Regions from separate parts of the Homo sapiens genome. Here all the other regions are linked to region 5. Evidence: promoter capture Hi-C in 16 types of primary human blood cells and fetal thymus (Javierre and others, 2016). All regions are on one chromosome and are shown on one strand. Each heading gives the region's core, a stretch centred on a gene start or on the middle of the fragment in contact. The rest is flanking DNA. Distances are from core to core; before and after follow the strand shown.

Evidence for each region. Contacts are between HindIII fragments. The CHiCAGO score rates a contact against its expected background, and 5 or more counts as called.
Region 1: a fragment that was not itself captured here is called in contact with the fragment with the promoter of RHOB in region 5 in 12 of 17 cell types (endothelial precursors, total B cells, naive B cells and 9 more); the score reaches 27.3 in endothelial precursors.
Region 2: a contact is called between a fragment that was not itself captured here and the fragment with the promoter of RHOB in region 5, in 1 of 17 cell types (neutrophils). The highest score is 5.5, in neutrophils.
Region 3: a contact is called between a fragment that was not itself captured here and the fragment with the promoter of RHOB in region 5, in 1 of 17 cell types (naive B cells). The highest score is 7.2, in naive B cells.
Region 4: a fragment that was not itself captured here is called in contact with the fragment with the promoter of RHOB in region 5 in 1 of 17 cell types (neutrophils); the score reaches 6.3 in neutrophils.
Region 6: a fragment that was not itself captured here is called in contact with the fragment with the promoter of RHOB in region 5 in 1 of 17 cell types (neutrophils); the score reaches 5.2 in neutrophils.

What each region holds. Positions count from the first base shown.
Region 1 is chr2:20,573,243-20,577,908 of GRCh38, forward strand. It overlaps a transcript of HS1BP3 not described here. Among named protein-coding and RNA genes, the nearest start is that of HS1BP3-IT1, 17 kb to the right of the region's middle. RefSeq lists enhancers at 1,922-2,422, 3,530-3,669. The HindIII fragment of the contact is 3,387 bases long and covers 737-4,123 here.
Region 2 is chr2:20,240,166-20,244,794 of GRCh38, forward strand. It overlaps the pseudogene DRG1P1. Among named protein-coding and RNA genes, the nearest start is that of SDC1, 17 kb to the left of the region's middle. RefSeq lists silencers at 970-1,116, 2,151-2,380. The HindIII fragment of the contact is 3,794 bases long and covers 774-4,567 here.
Region 3 is chr2:20,697,172-20,701,592 of GRCh38, forward strand. LDAH (lipid droplet associated hydrolase) reads right to left here. Exons shown (of 7, transcript NM_021925.4): 6 at 4,399-4,421. Among named protein-coding and RNA genes, the nearest start is that of GDF7, 32 kb to the left of the region's middle. The HindIII fragment of the contact is 978 bases long and covers 899-1,876 here.
Region 4 is chr2:20,280,772-20,285,358 of GRCh38, forward strand. PUM2 (pumilio RNA binding family member 2) reads right to left here. Exons shown (of 21, transcript NM_015317.5): 11 at 2,572-2,715; 12 at 2,176-2,460. Among named protein-coding and RNA genes, the nearest start is that of SDC1, 58 kb to the left of the region's middle. The HindIII fragment of the contact is 9,280 bases long and covers 1-4,587 here.
Region 5 is chr2:20,445,266-20,449,388 of GRCh38, forward strand. It overlaps RHOB (ras homolog family member B), which reads left to right and starts at 1,809. Exons shown (of 1, transcript NM_004040.4): 1 at 1,809-4,123. The coding sequence starts at 2,201. The coding sequence ends at 2,791. RefSeq lists silencers at 1,518-1,767, 2,018-2,227. The HindIII fragment of the contact is 3,675 bases long and covers 1,078-4,123 here.
Region 6 is chr2:20,303,801-20,308,170 of GRCh38, forward strand. It overlaps PUM2 (pumilio RNA binding family member 2), which reads right to left. Exons shown (of 21, transcript NM_015317.5): 7 at 4,178-4,271. Among named protein-coding and RNA genes, the nearest start is that of PUM2, 45 kb to the right of the region's middle. The HindIII fragment of the contact is 2,974 bases long and covers 810-3,783 here.

The sequences.
Region 1 (4,666 bases), core at 1,180-3,679, 130 kb after region 5:
GGGGCAAAGCATTCTCCCCGAGAGCCTTCAGAGGGAGCATGGGCCTGCTGACACCTTGGTTTTGAACTTCAGGCCTCTGGAACTGTGAGAGAATAAATTTCTGTGTTTAAACCACCCTCTCCTCTTTAACCATGGGGTCCTCTGTCTCCACCACAACCCGTGGTACTTTGAGTCTCTTTGTTACTTGTTCTTCCCAGGGAGACCCCCCAAGCCCCTAACTGCTTTTAATCCTGAGGATCACATAATTCAGCAGGTTTTGAGTTGTCATTTTGTAGACTGAAAACCTGAGATTCACAGGTTCCCAAAAAAGGCCTGGCTCGGGCTGGGCCAACAGCTCTAAAGGAGTCGCAGCCTCCCGGGCCTTTGCTTCCAGAGGCTCCACAAATCCACAGCTCTCAGCTGATATCTCATTAGGGAGCTATGGGCTTCCCCTTCCTGTTCAGCTACTAGTTTAAGTTGTTTTCCTCCTTCTGGTCTGCAAGGAACAAAAACAAGTAATTTTCTCATAAAAATAACAATTAGCAAAGCCCGGAATCCAGACAGCCTCCGGTCAGGACCATTCATCGGTGCTGACCTCGAGGTAACTTCAGACTCCTTGTGAGACACAACACCGCCATCCCCACCAGGACAAGGAGGGCCAAGCGCTTTGCTGCCCTGCATGGTGGCCTGGTTGGTGACTGCAGCAGTGTTTTCAGGGACATAGAGAATGAACAGGAAGACCAATGTCAGAAACAAAAGCTTCTTGGACACTCAACATGGTTTTGAATGCCATAGAGAATGCAAAACTAGGTCCTTCCTGTGTGGGTTGCCCTCAAAAACCCAGGGAAGTGTCATGTTCACAGCAGGGAAAACAATTGCACTGATTAATTGTGCTTCTGTTGATGCTGCGGTTCTCCTGACTTCTGAGTGCATCACAGTGAGGCCATCTGCCAGATGGAAGCGCTGGAACAGACAGCTTCTTGGAGCAAACTGCAAGGCTCGTGAGACTCAAAACAAGCCTGTTAGATCCCATTTACTAAATGGCCATAATCAAAGAACAAGCTCTTAGTTATCTAGCAAGGCGCTCTGGAAATAGATGAGCATGCAAAATCACAATTTATGAGTTCAGCAATTTTTCTTTTTCTGCTGAAGATATTAGCCCATGAAAATCTTGTAGTGTTTGAGGAGATTCAGTCAATTGCTAACTTTCTGCAAGTGTCTTATCCATGGCTGCCTCCTTTTTCCCACCACTGCGAAGGGCCCTAGGCTTGGCAAGCAGGGTTGAGCTGGACTGGGAGAGGAAGACCTGGGGCATACCTCATTTCAGAGCCCTGGAGGGCCAGGGGATCACTGGGAAGGAATGAGTGCTGCATGGCCAGGAAAAATGAGTGACTGTATAGCAGAAAGCATGGTCAGCCTCGGTGGATGAGATGACAGTGACCTGGCCAGCCCCACTCAGTGGGCACCTGGCTTCCCCCAGCAGCACCCGGGCAGGCAGTGCTGGGCAAGCCTGGCCTCCTGGACACCTCACAGGGGTCTGCTTCCTTATCTGCTGTGTCCACATTGGGAGCCAATCCTGTCCCTGGATCAGGGCAGCAGATCCACTGAACTGAGCTAGGAGAGAAGTCGGGACCCTGGGTTCAAGTACCAGCATGGTTATCTACTAACCGTGGAACTGTGGGGAAATCAGGGGTCCTCTTGGAGCCTCAATCCCCTCCTCTGCATAACTGGGATGATAATGTTGGCCTTACTTGGTTTTTGCCAGGATTAAATGAGAACACAGGAGTGGTTGTTATTACTGGCGTAAAAAGAACCATTTCCTAGCTCATTAATGCAGACAACGTAAACGTCTGGATGCCTAAGGACAAAGCCCGGGACTTTTCTGCACTTGCTACTCACCCCCATATTGTTGTTGGGCATTTGTTTGGATTTCTCTGGAACTTTTGGAACAATGGGCTCTGGAGTTTTGTCCTGTGGTCATTCACACCCTCAAGGGAAGCATTTGCTGAGCTCTAGGCCTCGTTCCAAGGGTGAGGAGCCTGGTGGGACATTTACCTGAATCAGGGCCGCAGCCTGGACAGGCAGGGCTAGGGACAGGAAGGCCAGAGACACATAGTGTCAATCCCTGAGCCTGGAAGCCCTAGTCCAAAGCCTCCTGGGCTTATTTCAACCCATCAGCTGACTCTGACAATCAGAAAATACCAAAAAGGGCCCACCCCTTCCTCTCTAGCTCTGACACTCCAAGACCCTGTTTGGTCTCAACATGCAGCCCAGTTCCCTGGCTGCCCAGCCACACTCTGCCCACATATTTTAGACTCCCAAAGGGTAGTAAGTCCCTCTTGCAGCATCCCTGGAGGCCCCGCCACATGCCAGGTGAGGAGCCAGGCACTGGGGAGAAAGCCACAGTGTGCCTCCTGCCTCCTCCCCTCTCCAGGTTTGTGCCTCAAGGCCCGGCATTCCTTATCCACGGGCCTGGCCCATGTGCCTGGGCTCTTCCACACGGGGGCCTGGCAGCAACGCCTCTGTCTCCTTGGTTCCACCCCCCCCCCCCCCTTCAGGCTACCCCAGCAAGGGAGGACAGGAGCAGCTGGGAAATTAATTTACAATGTGAGTGACTGTTAGGCCCTGATACCCACACATGAGGAGTTGCTTTTTAAAAGGTAGCTATTTATAAAAATGAATGCTTGAGAAGTTCCTGACAGGCAATGGGGGAAGGGGACTGGGGAGGGGGACCTGAAAAACCTGTCCCACCCATTTCCATCTTTGTTTTGTTTTGTTTTGTTTTTTGAGACAGGGTCTTGTTCTCTCCCAGGCTGGAGTGCAGTGGCATGACCGCAGCTCACTGCAACCTCAATCTCCCGATCCTCCTGTTTTAGCCTCCCAAGTAGCTGGGACTACAGGTATATGTCACCATGACTGGCTAATTTTCTTTTAGTTTTTGTAGAGATAGGATCTCACCGTGTTGTCCAGGCTGGTCCTGAACTCCTAGGCTCAAGTGATCCTCCTACCTCGGCCTCCAAAGTGTTCTGGGATTATAGGTGTGAGCCATTGCACCCGGCTATGTGAGGTTTCTTTCTGCTCAATCTTTGCCTAAGTTGTTTCCTTCATATGGACTCTATGTGTTCCTCCTCTTTTCCTGTCCTCAGAGAACCAGCTGGAACCTCACCTCCTCTGAGAAGCCTGCCCAGTACAGCTCCTCCTGCCACTGAGGGCTTAGCTCAGGCGTCCCGTTTTCCATGCTTTGCAGTCTTATCTCCTCTCTGGCCTGAGACCTCCCTGAGGCTCTAGTCTAGAGCCTGAAAATATCAGAGGAGGGCTGGAATCTGCCACATTCTAGCTACACGACCTTCTCTCTAAAGTGGGAACAGGATCGCCTCCCTCATTGTACTGTAAAGTGCCTGGCATATGGCAGGTGCCAACAAATACTGCTACCCCCAGAAGTTCTGAGAGAGACGGAGGCCTTGAATGGTACCCTTAATGGGGCCCACAATCTAGGGACTTTTTATTCCACAACAGAAATGGAAGTTGACCTGTCACACTGAGTCTACACTATTTCTTGGGTCTTGCCTGCCTCCCGGAAGCTGAACTTATCACCAGAGGGACTATGCAGGCTGAAGTTTCTGTTTCTGTTTCGGTTACGTATAGAAGCAGTTGCTTTCTAAGAATTGAAGGACACCTAGTCATATCCTTTTGGTCAGTGGCAAACAAATGATGGGGAACAGAATTCCCACTTACAAATCTTTTCCCATTGGGATGTCTAGGATGGATGGTTCCTGGGAATGCCCTGGGAATTTACCTGGGAAGAGTATTTACAAGGAAATTTATGGGAGAATTTACAAGGGAATTGCCGTTTGAGTTGGGTTTTCAGAGTAAACAAGGGCTTGTCACTGGGCCTAGATGGAGATGTGGGGTGGCCCAGGGCAAGTGAAGGACTTGGGGTTCCAGGGAGATTAAGGACTGGGGGCATGACACACTGATATTCATGTACAATTGAGTTAATATTTCCGTATCGGGGAGGGCCTGGGAGCTGAGTGGGGAGAGGGTGGGAAAGGGGGACCCTCCTGATGGACCCAGGAGGTTCAGTCCCAGCCCAAACCCAGCCCTTCAGAAAGACCCAAGGCTAGTAGGCCTGGACTCCTTAAAAAGCTTCCCAACCATTGGCTGGGGAAGAGCATGATTCTTGGGGTTGTTTTACCCCAAGGGCCTTGTCCAGGGCTTCCTTTGAAACAAGTGCAGCGATCTCCCAGAGAGAAGTTCTAGACCATGCAATCTTCCTGTCTCCCTGCATTTCCTGTGACATGTTAGCGGCTTGGAGGTGTCCCCCCAGCTCCACCAGGGGCATAGGAAGAAAGAGCCTCCAGGCCCAAGGTGAGGGGCACCTCCCAGCACCGCCATCTGGGAGCGTAAGAGTGCCTGTCTGTGGCTGCAGCCTGGGAGGGAGAGAGGGTCCAGAGATGGAGGCAAGCAGAGGCCAGACCAACTCAGGCCGGGTGCATGAGCTGGAATTGCCAGGCCTCTGAACCTCAGGCTAGGTCGCATTCTTGGAGCAGCAGATTAAAGTATGAGGGGGTATTGTCTAAGCTACACTCCCCGGCACTGGGGCTGGATGGGGATTGGGCTTCCAGGGTTCTGTTATACTGATCAGATCAATGATTCATATGCTGATGTATCAGAACCACCTGCAAAC
Region 2 (4,629 bases), core at 1,421-3,920, 200 kb before region 5:
GTGGTGATGGGCAGAGATGGGTACACCGTGAGGCACCTTATAGTGCTATCCAATTCCTCAATGGAGATTTGGTCAATCTTATTTAACATAAGATAACATTTGGTCAATCTTATTTAACATAACATTTGGTCAATCTTATTTAACATAGATACAGGGGATATAAACTCTGTTTCCTTCCACCACATCAATGAGGTCATCAGCTGTAGCATCACTACGTAGAGTCACATCGGCATTATGAATCTTGTATTCAGCCAGAATGCTCTTCACAGTTTCAGCATCCAGCTCACTCTGTGGGCAAGTGGCTGTGAGATGAATGCCTCCCTTGTCCTTCTTCTTAAAGCCATTGTTGGGGGGCGGTGGTTGCTGTTCAAGTGAATGCCAAAGACTTCCAGCTCATTTTCAATTATCTTCTTATGTCCCAAAGGTTTCAGGACATCCAGAACAATCAGGATCAAGTTACAGGTTCGGGCCACTGCAATGATCGACGACCTCTACCTTTCCCATCCCTGGCACCTTCAATAATACCTGGGAGATCCAGGAGCTGGATTTTGGCACCTTTGTATCTGATGACACCAGGCACAGTGCTCAGAGTAGTGAATTCATAGGCTGCCACCTCAGAATATACCCCTGCCAGGTTACTAAGCAGTGTCGACTTCCCCACAAATGGAAAACCAACAAATCCAATTCAAGCATCACCTGTCTCGGCCACATCAAAACCTTCTTCTGCACCTCCACCACCACCACCACCCTTTGGAGTAGTGAGTTCTCGACGAAGCTTAGCAAGACGAGCCTTAAGCAGCCCCAGGTGGTGTGCTGTGGCCTTGTTGAGTCCAAGCCATCTCCTCTTCTGTCTCCGCGATCTTAGCTAGGGTGCTGCTCATCGTGGCGAGTACCCTGTGGCCTCCACACTGACTGTCTCCCTTCACACACCCGCGGGCAAACTAGCTCAAGTATAATGCTTTTCAAAAGTAACTCAATGAACTTGGGAGTGTAGGCCTCGGTACAGTGGCCCACAGACCCCTGAGAGCACCATTGTGTGACAGCTCTTCACCGAGAGACACCGCCTTTAAAAACGCGTTTAGGGCCGGGCGTGGTGGCTCATGCCTGTAATCCCAGCACTTTGGGAGGCTGAGGCGGGCAGATCACGAGGCCAGGAGTTTGGGACCAGCCTGACCAACATGGTGAAACCCCGTCTCTACTAAAAATACAAAAATTAGCCAGGCATGGTGGCGTGCGGGTGTAATCCCAGCTACTCGGGAGGGTGAAGCAGGAGAATCGCTTGAACCCTGGAGGCGGAGGTTGCAGTGAGCCGAGATTGCGCCACTGTACTCCAGCCTGGGCAACAGAGCGAGACTCCATCTCAAAAACAACAACAACAACAAACAAAAAACAAAACAGAAAAACGCGCTTACTTCCTACTGGCTTTACAGTGGTGAGCATTACCTAAGCACCTAACTTCAGGCTTTGGGGTAAAGAGAGAGAAACACACAGTCTGGCCTTCCAACAACTCACAGTGTGGGTGGAGAAACGTAAGAAAACAAGCCATTGCAATAATTTGCCATCACCGCCATCATGACCTTGTGCCTGGAGGAGCTGTCCCTGGAATCTGTCTAGGGAAGCTCCAGGGCTGGCTCCAGGAGACGAGGAGGAACTGGCTGGCCAGAGACAGGGGCAGTAGGGTTGTCAGATTTAGCAAATAAAAACAGAATGCCCAGTTAAATTTGAATTTCAGATGAACATTTTTTTTTAGTATAAAATGTATAATTATGTCCTATGCAATGTTTGGGATTTATTTATACGAAAAAATTTAGTCGCCCCACCTGTGGCTTTAGGGCCGACTTGTTCAGGAAGGGAAGAGGAAGAGCACAAGAAGGTTTGGTGCAAGAAGATGGGTTCGGTTCCGGACATGTTTGGCGAAACGGGGCCAGTGGCCACGTGACTGGAGATGTGCGATTCCAGGCTGCAGGATGTCAGGGCTCGGGCTTTAGGGGCGAGGCCTGGGGTCCGCGGTGGTAGGATGTTATGGGAAGTGCCCTGTGATGAGGCTGCAGGCGGTCGTACATGGCAGTTGAGTGGGATGGGTAGAGTTCTTTCCTTGTTCGAGAAGGCAGGGTGTGTCTGAGCAATCCTGTTTAGAAAGATCAACTCCAAGTAATTTAGACGAAGAAACTTCTGGAGCTGGACGGATCCCCCAGGGTGCGCCGCGCCTGGACTGGGAAGGGCCCCCGGACCCGCGGCGCAGGGGAGGGCCGGGCCGCCAGGGGGCGCTCTCGGCGGACGGGGCGGGGGTCCCCCTTGGTGTCTCCCAGGCAGCTTCGCAACAGCCCTGCTGGATTAGGCCCCAATGAGCAAACTGAAGCCCGGGTGGGGAAAGGGCGGGGGGGGGGGGGCTTGAGGGCGTCACCCAGGCGGGTCAGTTGCTTTTTTAAAAAAAATTATTTTTATTTTTTTTATAGGGAAGGCAGGGGCATCTCGCCATGTTTCCCAGGCTGGCCTCGAACTCCTGGACTCAAGCGAGCCTCCGCCTCGGCCTTCCAAAGTGCTGGGATCACCACCGCGCACAGCCACTTTTGCAGCTTTCTAAGGCCGCCCCCAGGCCCTTGCCACCCTGCTGCGTGAGCCAGGCTTGGGCCTGTGGGGAGGGCTCTAGGTCACCTGGTGGCTGCCGTTGTGTCTACAGCTGCCTCTTCCTGTGACAAAGCTGACTCTTTGTCTTCCAGGTCCCTTCTCTAGTTTTCTACCCTACTGTAGAAGAGGGTGGGTAATGGAATATAGATGAAGCTGTCACCCTTCCAAACTCTGGGGGGTGACCCCCTCCCTCCTCTGCTCACAGGTGCCTTCCAAGCCCAGACTCCAGTGCTCAAACCAGAACTGACTTTTGAAGGAGCAGGGCAGAAGAGGACTCCCAGACACCCCTCCTCTTCTCCAGGGCGAGCCCATACACGTGCTTTTGTCCTCATCCCTGCCATAGGAAGGGGCCCACCAGGTGTGACCCGGCTTTCCAAGGCTTCTGGCCATAAAAGGCCAGGGGTGGGAATAAAGCAAGAAAGAGATGAGACTCCGCCCATGTCTCGGGGAGCCCCTCAGCTCTGTAACTGGCACTGCTACCTCCCCTGCCTCCAGTCCCTCTCTACTGCTGCTCTGCCAGCCTGTGCTGGGTCCTCCACACCACCGCACTTGTCACTCACCTGCTCAAGAATCTGTGATGACCCCTATTGTTAACTGAAGCATTGCTTGTATCAAGAATCTCATTCTGTTTCTCCCTCCACTGGGGTGTGCACCTCTTGAGGGCTGTATCCTCAGCATCAAGAATACTTGACACAGGCCGGGCACGGTGGCTCATGCCTGTAATCTCAGCACTTTGGGAGGCCAAGGTGGGCGGATCACTTGAGGTCAGGAGTTCAAGACCAGCCTGGCCAACATGGTGAAACCCCGTCTCTACTAAAAATACAAAAATTAGGCTTAGGTGGGCATGGTGGGCCACGCCTATAATCCCAGCTACTTGGGAGGCTGAGGCAGCAGAATCGCTTGAACCTGGGAGGTGGAGGTTGCAGTGAGCCGAGATTGTGCCACTGCACTCTGCACTCTAGCCTGGGTGACAGAGCAAGACTCTATCTCAAAACAAACAAAAAATGAAACCTGACGCAAAGTAGTTGCTCAATAAATAAGACTATGAAAATGCACTGGCTGCTGCACCCACCTTGCTCTCAATCCCCCAAAGCCATCCCCTCATCCTCTTCATTTTACCTTTCCCTTCCAAGCCCAAGGCACTGATTAGTTTTGAAATCTTGATTCCTGTCTAGATTTAAAGGCTTTGAGTTAGGAATTACTTTTTTTCCCTCCCGCCTAGGACCTCATGCCTTCTCAAAAAATAGGTAAGACCAGCCAGACACAGTGGCTCATGCCTGTGATCTCAGCACTCTGGGATGCTGAGGCAGGAGGATCACTTGAGTCCAGGAGTTTGAGACCAATTCAGGCAACATGACAAGACTCTTGTCTTTACCAAGAAATTTAAAAATGAGCTGGGCACGGTGGTGCATACCTATTGTCCCAGCTACTCAGGAGGCTGAGGTGGGAAGATCGCTTGAGCCTGGGAGGTTGAGGCTGCAGTGAGCTGTGATCATGCCAGCGCACTACAGCCTGGACGACAGAGTGAGACCCTGTCTCAAAAAACAAAACAATACAAAAGATAAGACTGAATGTTCTCCATATGGTCCTATTTGGTCATGGAATGATTTGTGGTGGATTTTCCTCCACTCTTCAGCATTCCTTCCATAACCTGTTTCTGGCCATGAGCTACATGCTGTTTACACAAAAAAGATATGATCCTGAACTGGGTGGAAGGCTTCTGCTCAACTGCATGGGCACCAAAATGTGTGCTGAGGGAAATCACACATGATCTTCTCAAGCAGCTTTTGACTTCCCTCAGGATCCTAGATGACCATGTTCATAAAGAATTATTGGCCAACATCCCATATCTTCTGACTATGAAGGTGAAAACGTGTGCTTTGCGTAGAGTTGGATGAGACCCTTGTTTCTGATTTCTAAATACCTACTGCTTTGAGGAAGCTTCCATCATCCTAACTTCGTTGTCCAGGCAGAGGTTGAGAGGGAAAGGTTTAGAAGGCT
Region 3 (4,421 bases), core at 138-2,637, 250 kb after region 5:
TCAGCCATCTCCCATAACTTGCTGCTGCTTCTCTTCCCATATTCCCTGTCTTATTACCAAGTCCAGATACAAAGAAATAATCTTAGATTCCTCCATCTCCATTCCCCAATATCCTGTTAGTACTCAGTACCTTTGATTCTATCTCCTAAATCTTTCCATCTTCAATCCCAATGCCTTAGTTCTTATAAAAGCTTTGTAAACAGGCTCCCCAACTCATATTTCATCCTTTTCTAGTATTATACCACACATTTGCCCTCAAGATAATCCCTCTCATTTGTTAATCTCACCAAATTCCTAGGGCTAACTGATATGAACTGGTGCCCCTGAACTGGCTGTTCATAGCTGGCATACATTCTGATTGGTCAATCCCTATATCACATGGTTGTCAAATGTTTTGACTGTCACCCTGTTACTCCCATGCTTAGACCCTTCAATAGCTCCCCAAAACAGTCTCTTCAGTGTGGCATATCATGACTTTTTGTTCTCAGGCCAGTGCCTAAGCCACAACATCATGCTACCTAACCTTTTCTAGTTTCTCTAACGCAGGGCTTCTTTGCTTGCGGTGTACAGGTCCAGAGGTTTGGAGAAGGGGTTATGTAAACTTTGGAAAAATTTACATGTTTACTTTTGTTAATCTCTAACCAAAATTTAGTATTTCTTTCAATTAGGAATACAGGCAACAAGCTACAATATTAGTAATGCCTATATTTTGTCATCTATAAAAATGATAAGTATTTTTAAATCACACTAACTTGCTCAAGGTAACTAAAACATTATACTTATCATTACAAATTAAAAAAAAATTCTGACTGCTATTATATCTCATTATCCAACAACTTCTTTCTTTTGTAATCTTGTGTATTTTATGCACTTAACATCATTGTGAGTAGAATCCAAAAGCTTTATGAGAGAGCGAAAGAGATGCATGGCACAAAAAAGGTTTAGAATCCACACTCTAGTTAATGGCGTCCCCATCTATCCATCTGTCTAGCACATATTTACTGACTGTTTACCAGGTATGAATTATGCTAGGCCCTAGGGGACATCAAGACGAAGAAGACACAGCTCCTTACCTCAACGTGGGGAAAGGTGAAGGTTGATTGTTTAAATACTGTGTGATAAATGCAATATAACTTTACATAGGGAGTAACATCTAACCAAAACCAAGGACTGGGAAGGCCTCTTGGGGATGACACTAGACAAGCAGGATTTAGTCAAATGACAAAATAACCTATAGGCCGGGCGCAGTGGCTCATGCCTGTAATCCCAGCACCTTGGGAGGCCGAGGCCGGTAAATCACAAGGTCAGGAGTTTGAGACCAGCCTGACCAACATGGTGAAACCCTGTCTCTAGTAAAAATTAGCTGGGTATGGTGGCGGGTACCTGTAATCCCAGCTACTCGGGAGGCTGAGGCAAGAAAATCGCTTGAACCCGGGAAGTGGAGGTTGCAGTGAGCCGAGATCGTGCCACTGCACTCTAGCCTGGGCGACAGTGCAAGACTCTGTCTCAAAAAAACAAAAAAAGGAAAAAGAAATAACCTATGATGCCATAAACCATGGTATACTCCTTTGGAAACAACCATGAGTCTGTTATATTTGCTCCAGGAAAGAAAAATTATTTTAATAAAATAAATTACTTTATGTCCAATACTGTGTATAAAGTCACTGGACCTCAGAAGGAGGATAATCAGCTCAACAGATCTTTTAGAGCTAAAAATGCCCATTTTCCTCAAGCATATAAAAAGCTCTCTTCTTGTGTCAAATGGAAATCCAGTGGTAGAAAATTTGGATTTAGAACCAAAGCCTGTAGATTATGGTATGATAGTTCTCTTGGGGAGGAGAAAGAAGTAGAATGCTGTCTGCATGATACAGTAGAAAGCTTATTTTTAGACTAACTTTCCTGTGGCATTCTGGCTGGATGGCACAAAGATATATTTTTCAGAACTATTTTTAGTTGAATAGCTGAGATACAGGAAATGATTTTTCAACAAAATGTGTGGCTTGATGACTATTCACACTGGACAGTCCTGGATAGTTCTGAAGTTTCTGAACGCCTTTGTTTGGGTGGAAATGGGAAAGAGTATCCTCGATTAAGATACCTAAATAGGAATATTTCTAATCCCGGGCATTGGTTTTAGTTTGACCAGTTATCGGGGGTGTTTGGAAGGCAGGAAGCAATGCCCACTATCTTCCTAGAACTATGTGCACTTTTAAGTTTCCTTATTTTCTCAAGCAGACTGGGACATATGTTGATTCAACTTCTACCAATATTAAATTACAGCATGTTTCCTCTTTTTATTACAGAAACAAAAAGTTGCAATAAACTTCCTGTCTCTCTGTACCTAGTTTCACTTAGGAGCTGTAATTGTATTATTCTAGTGGAGAGCTTGAATTTTGCTGGTAGAAAGGATAATGAATTAACTGCAAGGTAGTTTTGCATGATTAAATGAAACAATGCTTTGTTTCCCCATATTCTAGAAGTATATTTAATGCTATCTCAAAAACAAAACTATTGCCTGGAGTTGAAAAAGTTTATTCCTGTGACTGTGTGTTAATACTAACCTTGAAATGTCTACCATTTACCATTACACCCCCGTATTTCCCCATAAAATTTCAGTAAACTTACAGTCCTGACATAATTACCATGAACAGCCCTCTATCTGGGAATGATTACACTTGCATATGGATTTCACTTGGGACAGGAATAAGTTAGCACCTTTCTTTGACCTTTTTCTGAGCACAACACACAAGCTGAATCCAGAAATGATGAGTATTTTACAGCAGCTGGCTTCCACAGGTGGTAAAGCAGACTCTGACACATGATGGGTCTAGTTGTTCAGCAAGTGTGAATTTTGGAAGTGAGCATCTGCCAGTCTTATTATTAACTGAGAGTTGAGCTGTTTTTATGAACTCCCAACCTGGAAGAACTTAAATGCATTTTTGAAACAGATTCACTTACAGTTTAAATGGAAAATAAAATACTGTTTTTCTTGTATTTTCACATCGCTCAGTGACTGGAAGTAGCTGAAAGCCCTGGAGAGGGGGCCCTCCTGAGGCCCCAGCACTCTCCCTTCGGCTAGTGAGGGCTTCCTTCTGGTTTCCAAATTTCAATCTCTAGCCAACTGCTATTTCAGAAATATGATGACCACTATGGCCATGAGACAAAACAACACTGGCATTTTCAAAAGTCCTCTCTGGGTGAATATTTTCAATATTCTAAAAAAAAAATTTTAAGAACATATACACTTCTCGTTTTAAGATAATTGTACTGGGAGGTTATGGAATTAAGAATTAACAATGTAGAAAAGTTTAAGTCAAATGTATCAAGGTTTATAAAGACATTCTAAGTCCAGTGGGTTATCTCGTATTTCACTTGTGGATTGCTCCTGAGTCCTATGAGAGTTTGCCACTCAGCAGGGATCATTTCAGCAGGTATCATAGTTCAGCACCAATTGTAAAGTTTAAGACTAATGCTGTCCAACAGAAGCATAAAGCAAGGTACATATGCAATTTTAGAATTTCCTAGTTACAATGTTTAAAAAATTATAAAGGAATGGGTGAAATTACTTTTAATAATATGTTTTACTTAATCCACTATATCTAAGGTAGTATTTCAACAGGTAATCAATATAAAAATTAATGAAATACTTTGCTTCTGGGGGAACTAAACTTTTGAAATCCAATGTGTGTTTTACACTTATGGCACAACTCAATTAAGGCTAGCCACAAATAACCACATGTGGCTAGTGGCTATAATATTAGTACAGTTCTGTCCTACTCAGAACGGACAGCCAGACAAATGATGCCACAGGAGTACCACAGTCATCCAAATTCTAGGGTGACCTTAGACATATACTAAACCCTACTCTTATAGTTTCAGAGATTGGTGCTTCCAGATGTGTGTGTGCAAGATTCTAGTATTTGCAGCATAACTCCCAAATGTTGAATATTTCACAAAACTGGTCTTAGGGTCAGAGCAGGACATTCCTACTCTAACACATTAGAGAATAAGAAAGGCTCACTAGTCATGAGATCATATAACATATAATGTATTTTCCACTGTTTCATTTATATTCCAACATTATTTATTCTATAAATATTATGGAGTTTTCTCAGTAGAAGGCCTAGAGAGGCTAAAATGCATTGACAAAATAGAAAAGTATTGATTCTAAAATTAATTCAACAAAAACAGGTGATAAAAAAATAAGTTATTATGCAATTAGCTTTACTACTCTCTACACAACTTTCAGGGATAATTTCAATTTTAACTGGAAGTAGAACTCTATGTCATTCTACCAACCCTTAAAGTCTTACAGATTCTAACTAGTTCTAGTCCTTTGCCCTCGTATCTCTGCCCATCTACTTATTATCTATCCCCTTGCAGCACTAAAGTGATTACCTTACATAAATGCTCCTTTATGG
Region 4 (4,587 bases), core at 711-3,210, 160 kb before region 5:
AGAGGGTAGACAGACTGCTAATCATTCATCGACTGTGAAAAAAGGCTAAATTATAAACTTTCAATTGTAACAACACTTTAAAAAATAACAGGTCATAGAAAAGATGATTTAAATTATATGTTACGATGTTTAGGCTTCTTGGCCAACTATATCATAAAATGGGGTATTTAACACTGTTAAACATTAATAATTTCATCATAGAGGTAAGAGAAGGACTGTGTATGTTACTTGTATATGTGTATACAGGCACACAACCATATTATGTTTTAGAGCTCATGTAAGTATGTAATTGCCATAATGTGAAAAGGCAGTGTGCAAACTTGTAAGAGTCCATATATATAGCACTTGAAAAAACTCCCACAAAATGCCCAAGAGGAGAGATACGATGGACTCTTTACTGGCATTCAGGGGTGGCAATCACTAATGCTCTCTAAAGCAAGGTAAAATGAAGCTCTTACAGATTGGAGTCAGAATTAAGTAAGCCATGCTTGTAAATAATGGAGGTGTGAAGGTTAGTTTTGGGGAAACAGGGCATCTGTAGTGGACAAAATGTTCATGTCAATCAATTCCTGAAAGGGGGAAAACAGCCTTAACTAAGAAACAAATGGAAATTTGAAAGAATTGAGTAGGGGCCTAGAAATCTGAACCAGACGATCAGTGACATACTACGTGAGAAAGGAAACATGGGGTTTAATCAATGCTCTCTTTTTTCTGAATTATTTAGGGCCTACAATTTATAATTTAAAAACTATTTCCACAAGTTTGTTTTTTATGTTACTTGTTCTTCCAGTTTTCCTCAGAATATTTAGGATTCTTTGGAGAAAATGTCCCAATTGTGTTAGAAACAAGGAATGAGTCCTATGGGAGTGCGTGAGGTGGACAAAGAGATACACAACTCCAAAAGCAATGAAAAAACTCAAGTACAAAATTGAAAAGATTTAACAATCCCCATGTTCACTGGATTTTCCCTCAGAAATTCTTATGAGCAGTCTTCAGATAATTTTGTGTCAGTCCAATATGACATCCACTTATTGTATTTCATTACAATAAATGAAAAAAGATTCTGCCATCTAAAAGTTTGTGGCTGTTCTAGACCATCCTTCCTGTATATATGAATGATAAAAGTTCAGAAGACACTCCCTTAGAAAACTGGCAAGCATTGTTAATAATGCCTGGCATGTGTTAGTTCTGCCATTTTCCACACCAGAAAAGAATATAATTTGATGTGGTAAGAAAAGAGATCAGAAACAGATATTAAGGACTGTAGCAAGTTATGTTATAGAAACAGAAAATCTCTTGAGGTCCAAATAGTCCTATCCTCATGAAGTAAAAGCTGCCAGCTGCACCGATAGAACTGGGTCAGCTGTTTTTTCCCTAATGTTTCCTGAGTACTGTGGAAACCTCACAGAAAACACCAAGTGTATCAACAAGAAGTCAACGTGGGCCTCTTCTGATTTCACTTAGTTCTTCCTCTACCACAGGATCCAGGAACCAGTTTGAGTGGGTCAATTATTTAGTGAAGCTATTTAAAATTTTGATTTGTTAAGTGTTATATAAAGCTAAGATACATGAATAGATACCCTTTTAAGTGAATTTTTAGTGACAAAGGCTAACTTATTTAATCTAAAAGATAACCATACTGGTAGCTTCTTAGGGGATTCTGTGTAGAACATTTCAGTATTTATACATACACATATGTATTTTTTATATTAGGCCAAATTTAAAAACTGTAATAAACTACCAGCATTTAATAAGAATAAACCATCTAATAAGGACACAAAGATAACTGCTTTAAAATACCAAAAATTTAAGACGGCAAAATATTTGCCTCCACAAACATTATGTAGTGAATGAAGATGAGCTAATAATTAGTGAATAATATATTGACCCAAATAAACCCTACTAAAACAAAAATTACAGTAATCAATTCCTAGAGCCAGGGAAAAAGGAAATGTATTATATATGAGTAAAGAACAGGCTGCCTATAGTGAGTTAAACATTGGTGAGTGTTGAAAAGATTTGCAGGATTTTTTTTTCCTACAAATTAAACCAGTAGTCCAATACTTTATTCCTGTCCTTCCTATCCTACATGCTATTATTGCTTATTTTAATGTTAAACACACTCATATACCTCTTCCACTTAGCAGAGTACACTCATCGTAAAAACAAACTTACCTGATGAACCAAATCCACTGAGGGCTGAGCCTATAGCAGCACCCAAAGAGTTACCACTTCCAAAGCCAAGAGATGTACTTCCAGGTTGACCAGGTCCATGAGAAAATAAAGAACTACTCTGGGAGCTATTAGTCAAAGAACTGCTTCCATAAAATGAATTAGATTGCAGATTAGTGCTTGGCTGCTGTTGCTGCTGCTGTGGTGGCTGAGTGCCAATTGGCCGAAACAGACCATTTGTGCTGCCTGTAAGGCTACTTGCAGTTCCTCCAGCTGCTGCTGCTGCTGCTGTAAAATAAATTTCAGATACTTCTTTAAACCACCCAGAAAATTCTGTATTTTAAAAATGGTATCTCAACACCAGAAAAATATTATCCTAAAAATGTCAGTTACACTTACCAGCTTGTGCTGCTGCTGAACTAATTAAAACAGGTGTTGGAGCCATTAACCGAACTGGAGCTCCAAGGCCAGTCCTTGCTCCAGGGCCAACCACTAAGGCACCAGTCTGATCATAATAGGCAGTTGGAGCTAGTACTTGATAGCCTAAATAAAATAAAGGTTTACTAATGAAAGCACTTATTACAAAAACATGCATATTTGTTTTTCCCTGCATTTGTATTTTTTCAACTAGACAACACAGCTATTTGTACCATTACTATAAAATCCTTAGTTAATATATGCAAAGCAACACATTTGACAAGGTCTTACTAAATATATGAAAAAGTAATAGACTGTCATTAAACATTTTTTCTCTAAATTTTACTCAGGGGCCACAAAATGAAGAGGTATTTTCCTTAATATAGAAACTACAGGCTATGAAGGAAGGGCTGATATTAGAAAAAAAAAATCACCATTTAGCCCTTCGAAGAAGAAGGATTAAAAAAACTGGGAGTAGCGAGGTAGAACACTGTACGAAATGTTTACTGTGCAATTTCATTGAAGTTCAAAATCAAGTGCCTCATTACCAGCATTCCGTTAGATTTTCATTTGTAATCATCTCTTTAAAAACTTAAGCCAAACATTCTATTTGTGAAGATTCTCAAGCTAGAGTTTAATTAAAAATCACACAGGCTTTAGTTTTATTGTAGCCTTAAGCACAAGGTAGGTAATCTTCACAAATAGTGGAGAATAAAGTTAACTTCTTAGCAGCCTTTCTCAATGGAGATTCTCTGTTGAACCAAAAACACAGAAAATGATTTAAGTAAGTATTTTGTTAATTCTCCTAAGGATGGTATATAACAAGCATCACTCTGGAATCACAGGAGAGAAGTTAGCTATATACACTGTGGATACTTCAGAGCAGTAATAAGGCTTTATTCTTTTCTGGAACTCAGTTTAGAAAGGCTGCCTTATAAAGCGACAAAAAACTGAGGCCCAATAACCTTACAACTATCAGCAAAACATGCATTGGCAACTTTTTTTTCCCTTAAAGAGTGCTGTCTTGCTCTGTTGTCTAGGCTGGAGCACAGTGGCATAATCATAGCTCACTGCTGCCTCAAACTCCTGGGCTTACATGATCCTCCCGCCTCAGCATCCTAAGTGGCTGGGACTACAGGTACATGCCACCAGGTCCGGATAATTTATTTTTATTTTCTACAGAAATAGGGCCTCACTATGTTGCCTAGCCTAGTCTTTAACTCCTGGGCCAGCGATCCTCCCGCCTCAGCCTCCCAACTGTGTCTGGTCCTTTAAGAAGTTTTTAAAAACACAGACTATACTGAAATACATTCCAACATCAATTTTTAAGTCTTATTTTGTTAATACTATGCAGAAGTGAGAGTTACAGTAAAATTAGTGATAATGCAGCATGAACATTTTATTGCCTTTAAACACAGTAGGCTAAATTCAGCTCAAATATAATAAACAGTGCTCAGATAAACACTTCACCTGTAAGACACACATGCATAGGTTGTTTTTAGTAAATACAGTAATTCTGATCAAGAATAAGCATTAGCACGCTGCTAATAAAATATCCACATTACTAGTAAATTTCAAACTGTACATGCCAGTCAATAGTCTTAACTGGTATGTGTGGTCTAGTCCTAAATCCAAGGCACACAGAAAACATTCTTGTTCAAAAACATTGTCATTTACTTAACATCTGAATTTGAATTAAAAATAAAAGTAAATCCATTTGGACATTTGGCTATAAACACTCTACTGACAAATCAAACAGCACTTAACTGCTCCTTAACTAAATTTTGCGTATATAAATTCCCAGAGAGGAAATAACCCACAGTCAACTCAACTCTGAAGTCCTGTTCATTTACCTTCCAATCTTTCTCAAATCCATCCATTCTCTTGATGGCTACTTTCCTGTCCAACCAGATTATATGGTCTGCCCTTGCTCTTTTGTCCCATGTCTGTAACACATTCTCCACAGAGACTGTGGTCTGAGATTGATATAAAAAGATA
Region 5 (4,123 bases), core at 559-3,058:
GCATTCGGGTTAATTCCCCACAGTCATTTACTGATCCTTGTAAATGCCAGGCATTGTGCTGGGTCTTCAAGATGCGGAGATAAGACAGAATCCTGGCCCTCCAACAACTGACAGAGACCGAGACAGAGACGGAGACAGGAGGCAACCACCTCCCGGTCATGTGGTGGGTCCCTCCTTTGCTGAAAAAACAGTTTGCAGACATTTCCCATGCAATGGATAGACAGAGCCCAGCCCATGCTGTTAATACTTTAGCACTCATGAGCCCCAGCATATGCAGCTCCTAGAGTTTGCCCCGCTCCTTCCCACCTTCCTGCTTGTGTTCAGGCTGTTTCTCCTGCCCGGGAGCCCTCCCCGACTCCCCTTTCCCCCTATCCCCTTCTTCCTCTTTTATCCGTAGAAATCGGTTGACTTGGGTCTTTCCGGATCACCGGTACTGTCATTTCATGCAGGATCTACAGGATAAATGAGTTCAGTCCTGGCGTGCATCAGGAGGCTACGCCCCAATAGAGGGGACACCCCCTAACCCGCTGTGCCCCATTTGCTAGCCCCTTACTCCTCCCCTCTTCTCCAGCCTCAAGCCTTTTCGTCTGCTCAGGGGTCTTGGGGTGGTTGGATTCTATTGAACCCGGAATATTGTACGTTCTATTGTACAATAGTGTATATTCTATTGTACATTCTATTGTACAATAGTGTATATTCTATTGTACATTCTATTGTACAATAGTGTATATTCTATTGTACATTCTATTGTACAATAGTGTATATTCTATTGTACATTCTATTGTACAATAGTGTATATTCTATTGTACATTCTATTGTACAAGTGTATATTCTATTGTACATTCTATTGTACAATAGTGTATATTCTATTGTACATTCTATTGTACAATAGTGTATATTCTATTGTACATTCTATTGTACAATAGTGTATATTCTATTGTACAATTTATCTCAGACAGTTCTCTGTTTTAAGAACCGGGATCAGAGTTCATAGTGAAAAGAGGGGCCGAAGGGGCTTCTTCCTGTCCGGTAACTTCCTCCAAGTGTTCGAGCCTCGACCTTCCCTTTCCGTTGTCAAGCTTGGGCCACTCCGCACCTCTTCCCTTAATCTTCACCTAGAGACCTAAGCTGGGGGTTGGGAAGGGTAGGGGCGGCGGGACTTGGAAGAGCCAGTTTGCAGCCAGCCGGTCGCCTCTCGGGTCCAAACCCGAGGCTGGCCCACGGCGAGTACCCGGGTGGGGCCCTAAACCACAGGAGGGGCCACCTCCAAAAGAAAAGAGAAAACACTCTTGTTTGGGAACAAAAGTGTGTGTGTGGGGTGTGTGTGTGTGTGTGTGTGTGTGTGTGTCTGTTTATTTAAAAACAAAACCACGTTAAAAGAGCTGCCCCTCCCCCACAGGCCCGACCACCCGCCGGGAGTTTGCCAGGAAGAGGGGCAATTCTGAATGGGAGTCGCCAACGCCCCACTGAGTGAAGCCTGTCTCGGAACCGCTCGCCCAGACCCTGGAGGCTCCAGACAGCCAGCTCCCGGACCCCGCGCGCAAACGCTGCGGCGAAGGAGGGGACCCGGGTACCGCCAGAGCCCCGCAGCGGCAGCAGCAGCGCGGACTCCCCGGTCGCTGCCTCTCCCAGCCCGGCGGCCTGGGCCGTCAATCAAGCTGGCCCTGCCCCGCCCTCGGGCTGCAGGGGGCGGCCAATCAGAGCTAAGCTCCGCAGCGATGAGCTCAGCCGGCTGGTTTCCCATTGGACGGCTATATTAAGAAAGTGGCCGGACTCTTTAAATAGCGGGCGCTAGGGCCGCAGCCCTCATCTGCCACCGCAGTCTGGTTGGAGCTGTTGTCTTGTATGCTCAGCGAGGCCCGGAGAGACCCGGGAGAGAGCTAGGCCGAGTCCACCGCCCGAGTCTGCTGCCCGAGCCCGCGTTACGCACAAAGCCGCCGATCCCCGGCCTGGGGTGAGCAGAGCGACCACCGCCCGGGAGCAGCGCGGCGAGACGCACGGTGCGCCCTATGCCCCCGCGCCCCCACCGCCCCCGCCGCGGCAGCCGAAGCGCAGCGAGAGAACGCGCCACCGCGGGGCCCGGGTGCAGCTAGCGACCCTCTCGCCACCTGCGCGCAGCCCGAGGTGAGCAGTGAGCGGCGAGCGGGAGGGCAGCGAGGCGTTCGCGGGCCCCCTCCTGCTGCCCGGGCCCGGCCCGCTCATGGCGGCCATCCGCAAGAAGCTGGTGGTGGTGGGCGACGGCGCGTGTGGCAAGACGTGCCTGCTGATCGTGTTCAGTAAGGACGAGTTCCCCGAGGTGTACGTGCCCACCGTCTTCGAGAACTATGTGGCCGACATTGAGGTGGACGGCAAGCAGGTGGAGCTGGCGCTGTGGGACACGGCGGGCCAGGAGGACTACGACCGCCTGCGGCCGCTCTCCTACCCGGACACCGACGTCATTCTCATGTGCTTCTCGGTGGACAGCCCGGACTCGCTGGAGAACATCCCCGAGAAGTGGGTCCCCGAGGTGAAGCACTTCTGTCCCAATGTGCCCATCATCCTGGTGGCCAACAAAAAAGACCTGCGCAGCGACGAGCATGTCCGCACAGAGCTGGCCCGCATGAAGCAGGAACCCGTGCGCACGGATGACGGCCGCGCCATGGCCGTGCGCATCCAAGCCTACGACTACCTCGAGTGCTCTGCCAAGACCAAGGAAGGCGTGCGCGAGGTCTTCGAGACGGCCACGCGCGCCGCGCTGCAGAAGCGCTACGGCTCCCAGAACGGCTGCATCAACTGCTGCAAGGTGCTATGAGGGCCGCGCCCGTCGCGCCTGCCCCTGCCGGCACGGCTCCCCCTCCTGGACCAGTCCCCCGCGAGCCCGGAGAAGGGGAGACCCGTGTCCCACAAGGACCCCACCGGCCTGCCTGGCATCTGTCTGCTGACGCCTCTGGCTTGCGCCAGGACTTGGCGTGGGCACCGGGCGCCCCCATCCCAGTGTCTGTGTGCGTCCAGCTGTGTTGCACAGGCCTGGGCTCCCCACTGAGTGCCAAGGGTCCCCTGAGCATGCTTTTCTGAAGAGCCGGGCCTCAGAGTGTGTGGCTGTGTGTCTGTTCGACTCCCCTCGCCCCATTTTCACCCCACCCCCGCCTCTGATCCCCGGGGGCGAGATTGGCGCGGGAGTGTGGCCGCGCCCCATCAGATGTTCGCCCTTCACCAGCGGGAGCTTGATATCCCTTGTCTGTAACATAGACCCCGGGTACTGCGGGAGGGGAGGGCTGCTGGGGAGGATGGGGGGATGTTATATAAATATAGATATAATTTTATTTTCGGAGCTAAGATGGTGTTATTTAAGGGTGGTGATGGGTGAGCGCTCTGGCCCAGGCTGGGCCAGACTCCCGCCCAAGCATGAACAGGACTTGACCATCTTTCCAACCCCTGGGGAAGACATTTGCAACTGACTTGGGGAGGACACAGCTTCAGCACAGCCTCTCCTGCGGGCCAGCCCGCTGCGAACCCTCCACCAGCTACCGGAGGGAGGAGGGAGGATGCGCTGTGGGGTTGTTTTTGCCATAAGCGAACTTTGTGCCTGTCCTAGAAGTGAAAATTGTTCAGTCCAAGAAACTGATGTTATTTGATTTATTTAAAGGCTAAAATTTGTTTTTTTATTCTTTGCACAATTGTTTCATTGTTTGACACTTAATGCACTCGTCATTTGCATACGACAGTAGCATTCTGACCACACTTGTACGCTGTAACCTCATCTACTTCTGATGTTTTTAAAAAATGACTTTTAACAAGGAGAGGGAAAAGAAACCCACTAAATTTTGCTTTGTTTCCTTGAAGAATGTGGCAACACTGTTTTGTGATTTTATTTGTGCAGGTCATGCACACAGTTTTGATAAAGGGCAGTAACAAGTATTGGGGCCTATTTTTTTTTTTTCCACAAGGCATTCTCTAAAGCTATGTGAAATTTTCTCTGCACCTCTGTACAGAGAATACACCTGCCCCTGTATATCCTTTTTTCCCCTCCCCTCCCTCCCAGTGGTACTTCTACTAAATTGTTGTCTTGTTTTTTATTTTTTAAATAAACTGACAAATGACAAAATGGTGAGCTTATGATGTTTACATAAAAGTTCTATAAGCT
Region 6 (4,370 bases), core at 1,047-3,546, 140 kb before region 5:
ATGACTTATTTACAAGACCATGAAATGGCTCCTTTTCACAGCAATCTGTTGTTTTAAGACTTCTGATAATCTCTGATGGCTCACACCCTTTATCTCTTAAGGTTCTGAAAATACTCTTACATTCTTTGCACAACTTTAAAGTTCCCTTCCATAACTTAGAACTCTGCGACATGTTTTCTGGCTGATCCTTCTTTGTACTGTCATTTTTGTTTGAAACATTATCTTACATGAGAGTTTCTCTTGCACTCACTTGTTCATTATGTGGTATCAGAATTATTGCCTAAACTACATACTATAGGGTCAAATCTCCAAACCAGGTCTTTTATTAGTAGCTGGGGGAGCTCTTACATGGTTACTACAACTCAACCCCCAAAGCCTGAACTGCATAGGCCCCTTTTTGTTTGTTTATTCCTCTTCTAGCCATCTGTAGGTCACCTGGCTTTATTCCCAATTTACCCCCCTATGGATTCTCCCTCAACTCCTTGTACTCTAGGAACTCTCCAACCAACTACATAACCCTGTCTTTTTGTTTTCATTCTATCCTATCTATTATTTCTGTCTGGCCAAGTACATGGGTTAAGCCTGCGTCTTACCTATTTTTGTACAAACTAGCTAAGAATAGTTTTAATATTTTTAAATGGTTCAAAAAAATAAAATTCAAACACATGAAAATTATTTGAAATTCCTATTTCAGCACCCATAAGTAAAGTTTTACTGGAACATAGCAATATTTATGCATCATCTAATAACCATTTTCATGCTTTACCAGCACAGTGGAGTGGTCGTGACCAAACCCATATGGTATGCAAAGCTTTAAATATTCAACAGCCTTTTGTACAGAAGACATTTGTCAACTCACACTCTAAAAATTTTCCACATATAGTCACTGTGCATTTAAAATGTGACTAGTTTGAGATCAGCTATATTCAAAGCTGACTTGAGATCAGCTATATTTCAAAAACAATATAAAGAAAAGAATGCAAAAATTCTCATTAGTAAGTTCCATATTGACTACATTTTGCAATATTTTGGATATGAGCTAAATAAAATATTCAAATTAATTTCACCTATTTTTTAATTTTTAAAAATGTGATTACTAAATAACTGCAAATTATATGGTACATATTATACATATTTCTATCGACTAGTCCTTTTCTAAATGAGCTATTGGCCAGCTAAGAGGTGACCAGGCAAATTTGGATAAAAAAGATTGTCAATAATGAATTTGCTTAACTGTGGAATTGAGTTAAAATGTGGGGTCAATTTTGATACACTATGCTTTCTAGGTTTTCAAATTTATTTATATTAGGTTTCTCACACATGAAAGTTCTGCCACATCTTTAAAGATTACGTAAGTCCAATATTATTAAAATACTCTAAGGCATTAAAATAAGAAAGAAATGGCTGGGCGCAGTGGCTCATGTCTATAATCCCAGCACTTTGGGAGGCTGAGTCAGGTGGATTACTTGAGCCCAGGAGTTCGAGACCAGCCTGGACAATAGGGTGAATCCCCGTCTCTACAAAAAATTCACTGGGCATCATGGCTCGAGCCTATAGTCCCAAGCTATGTGGGAGGCTGAGATGAAAGGATTGCTTCAGCCTGGGAAGCTGAGGCTGTACCACTGCACTCCAGTCTGGGTGACAGAGTAAGACCCTGTCTTCGAAAAAAAAAAAAAAAAAAAAAAAAAGACGTATCTAAAATTATTTTTGTGAAGCAAGAATGCTGACACTAAAAAACGTGAAAAAACTGCAGATACACAGAGACTAATTTCATCTAACTATATAGATGCAAAAATCCTAAATGAAATACTAGCAAATTGAAAGAGTATGTTAAAAGAAATAATTATTATATACAAGTCTTTTTTATTCCAAGAATGGGAAGACGATTCAACTATTTTAAAATATCATTCATGAAATCTGATATATGGTACTTGAGTTTTCATAGATAACACTTTAAAGCTACAATGAAAGACAGGAAGAAAGCCATTTACAATAACAAAACATAAAATACATAAAATAAACTTAGAATGAAATATGCAAACCCCTATGAGAAAAATTTTAAAGCACTCAAATGACACTACAGTAAACTTGAACAAAAATAAAGACACATCACACCCTGGACAAGAATACTTGATGTCAGCAGGGCACGGTGGCTCACGCCTGTAATCCCAGCACTTTGGAAGGCCGAGGTGGGTGGATCACTTGAGCTCAGGACCAGCCTGGGCAACATGGTGAAACCCTGTCTCTACAAAAAATTTGCCAGGTGTGGTGGCGTGCACCTGTGGTCCCAGCTACTCGGGAGGCTGCGGCGAGAGGATCACTTGAGCCTGGGAGGCAGCAGTTGCAGTGAGCCAAGACTGCACCACTGCACTCCAGCCTGGGTCAAACAACAAGACCTCCTTGTCAAAGAAACAACAACAAAAACAATAACAACAAAAAAAACCTGATGCTTGATGGCATAAAGATGTCAAATTTCCCTAAGTAAATTACAACATTTAATCCTATCTTCTGGAAGTAGATAAGCTAATTTTGAAGTTCATACAAAAAAGCAAATAAGCAAGAACCAAAAACTTAAAACCCCAAAAAAGAAGAGTAATAGATGTATTAGCCTGCCTAATAATATAAAGCCTCGAGAAATAAAAACCGTTGTGCTGTCCATGAATAGACAGGTAGCAGTACATTTCTAACATAAGAGGACAAACAAGGGATAAAGCGGGTGGGGAAAAAAGGAAAGAGAGGCAAAAAGAGGAAAGAAACGGGGCCAGAGTACATGCTGCGACTGGCACTCACCTATAAATGTGGACTTTTTTTTTTTTTTTTTTTTCTTGAGCGGAGTCTCTCTCTGTCACCCAGGCTGGAGTGCAGTGGTGCAATCTTGCTTCACTGCAGCCTCCGTCTCCCAGGTTCAAGCGATTCTCTGCCTCAGACACCCAAGTAGACGGGATTACAGACCCCCACTGCTAAGCCCAGCTAATTTTTGTAATTTTGTAGAGACGGGGTTTCACCATGTTGGCCAGGATGGTCTCAAACTCCTGACCTCAGGTGATCCACCTGCCTCAGCCTCCCAAAGTGCTGGGATTTCAGGATGGCGCCACTGTGCAGCCTGACATTTTTGATGAAAACAAAAAATAGGCCAGACGCGGTGGCTCACACCTGCAATCCCAGCACTTTGGGAGGCCGAGGGGGGGCTGATCACCTGAGATCCGGAGTTCAAGACCAGCCTGGCCAACATGGTAAAACCCCCGTCTCTACTAAAAATACAAAAATTAGCCAGATGTGGTGGCAGACGCCTGTGATCCCAGCTACTCAGAAGGCTGAGGCAGGAGAATCTCTTGAACCCAGAAGGCGGAGGCTGAAGTGAGCCGAGATTGCCCCACTGTACTCCAGCCTGGGTGAGAGTGAGACTCTCTCTCCAAAATAAACAAACAAAAAAACTGAAAAATAAAAATTAGGGCTTAGGAAGCCTTATTGCACTAACACAGAAGAATATGACATTAAGGAAAGACAACCCCCTTCCATAGACTCTGATGTTGACAGTCTTCATACAAACTTAGACAAAATCAGACAGGCATAAAAATGTTTACACAAATCTACACCTGATAAAATAAAATAAAACTATACATACATACTGCATCAATATCATATTACTGTTTTTGATACTGTACTGTAATAATTTAAGTGTAGCCATTAGGGGGAACTGGGTAAAGGGTATAGGGAAGTTATTCCCATATTATTATTGTGGGAGGTAGTGGGGAGACCTAGTACAGACAACATCATGTACCAAGCTTGAATTCTAGCAGATTAAAAGTCAAAGACCAAATAACTTCATGGAAAAAAATATTTTACAAAAAAATGTAAATGAACATACTGACTTGATAATGGACACAAGTAAATTTGAATTTCCAAGTGTCTGACTTTCTCAACTTCACATTGGAGAAAAACTTATGTGATAATAACTTTTATCGAATTACAGATTTTTATTTAATTAAACCAGTGATGCAAATAATAATCAGAAACAATTCCCTAGTTAATAAACACCTTTGTCATACAACCTATTACTTGTTGATCTCAGATGTTTCAAAAAGTAACAAAACCTCACCAATCAGTAAACGAAAAGTGAAACATCCTAGACATTTTAACAAGACTTTGGTCAAAATGAGAACGTATGAAGACTCACCTATATGTGGCTGCTGAGCTGCTGCTAATGCATATTGCTGCTGTTGAGCTGCAGTTAACTGTTGAACTGTTAGTGCATTAGTCCTCTGAAAGAGCTATTAGGGAAAATATTTAACACAAAGATTAGTGTCAAAATCTTTCATTTCTAATTAGAAATCTGAATAAAACATTTTAAACATTTTTTCTTTGGGAGG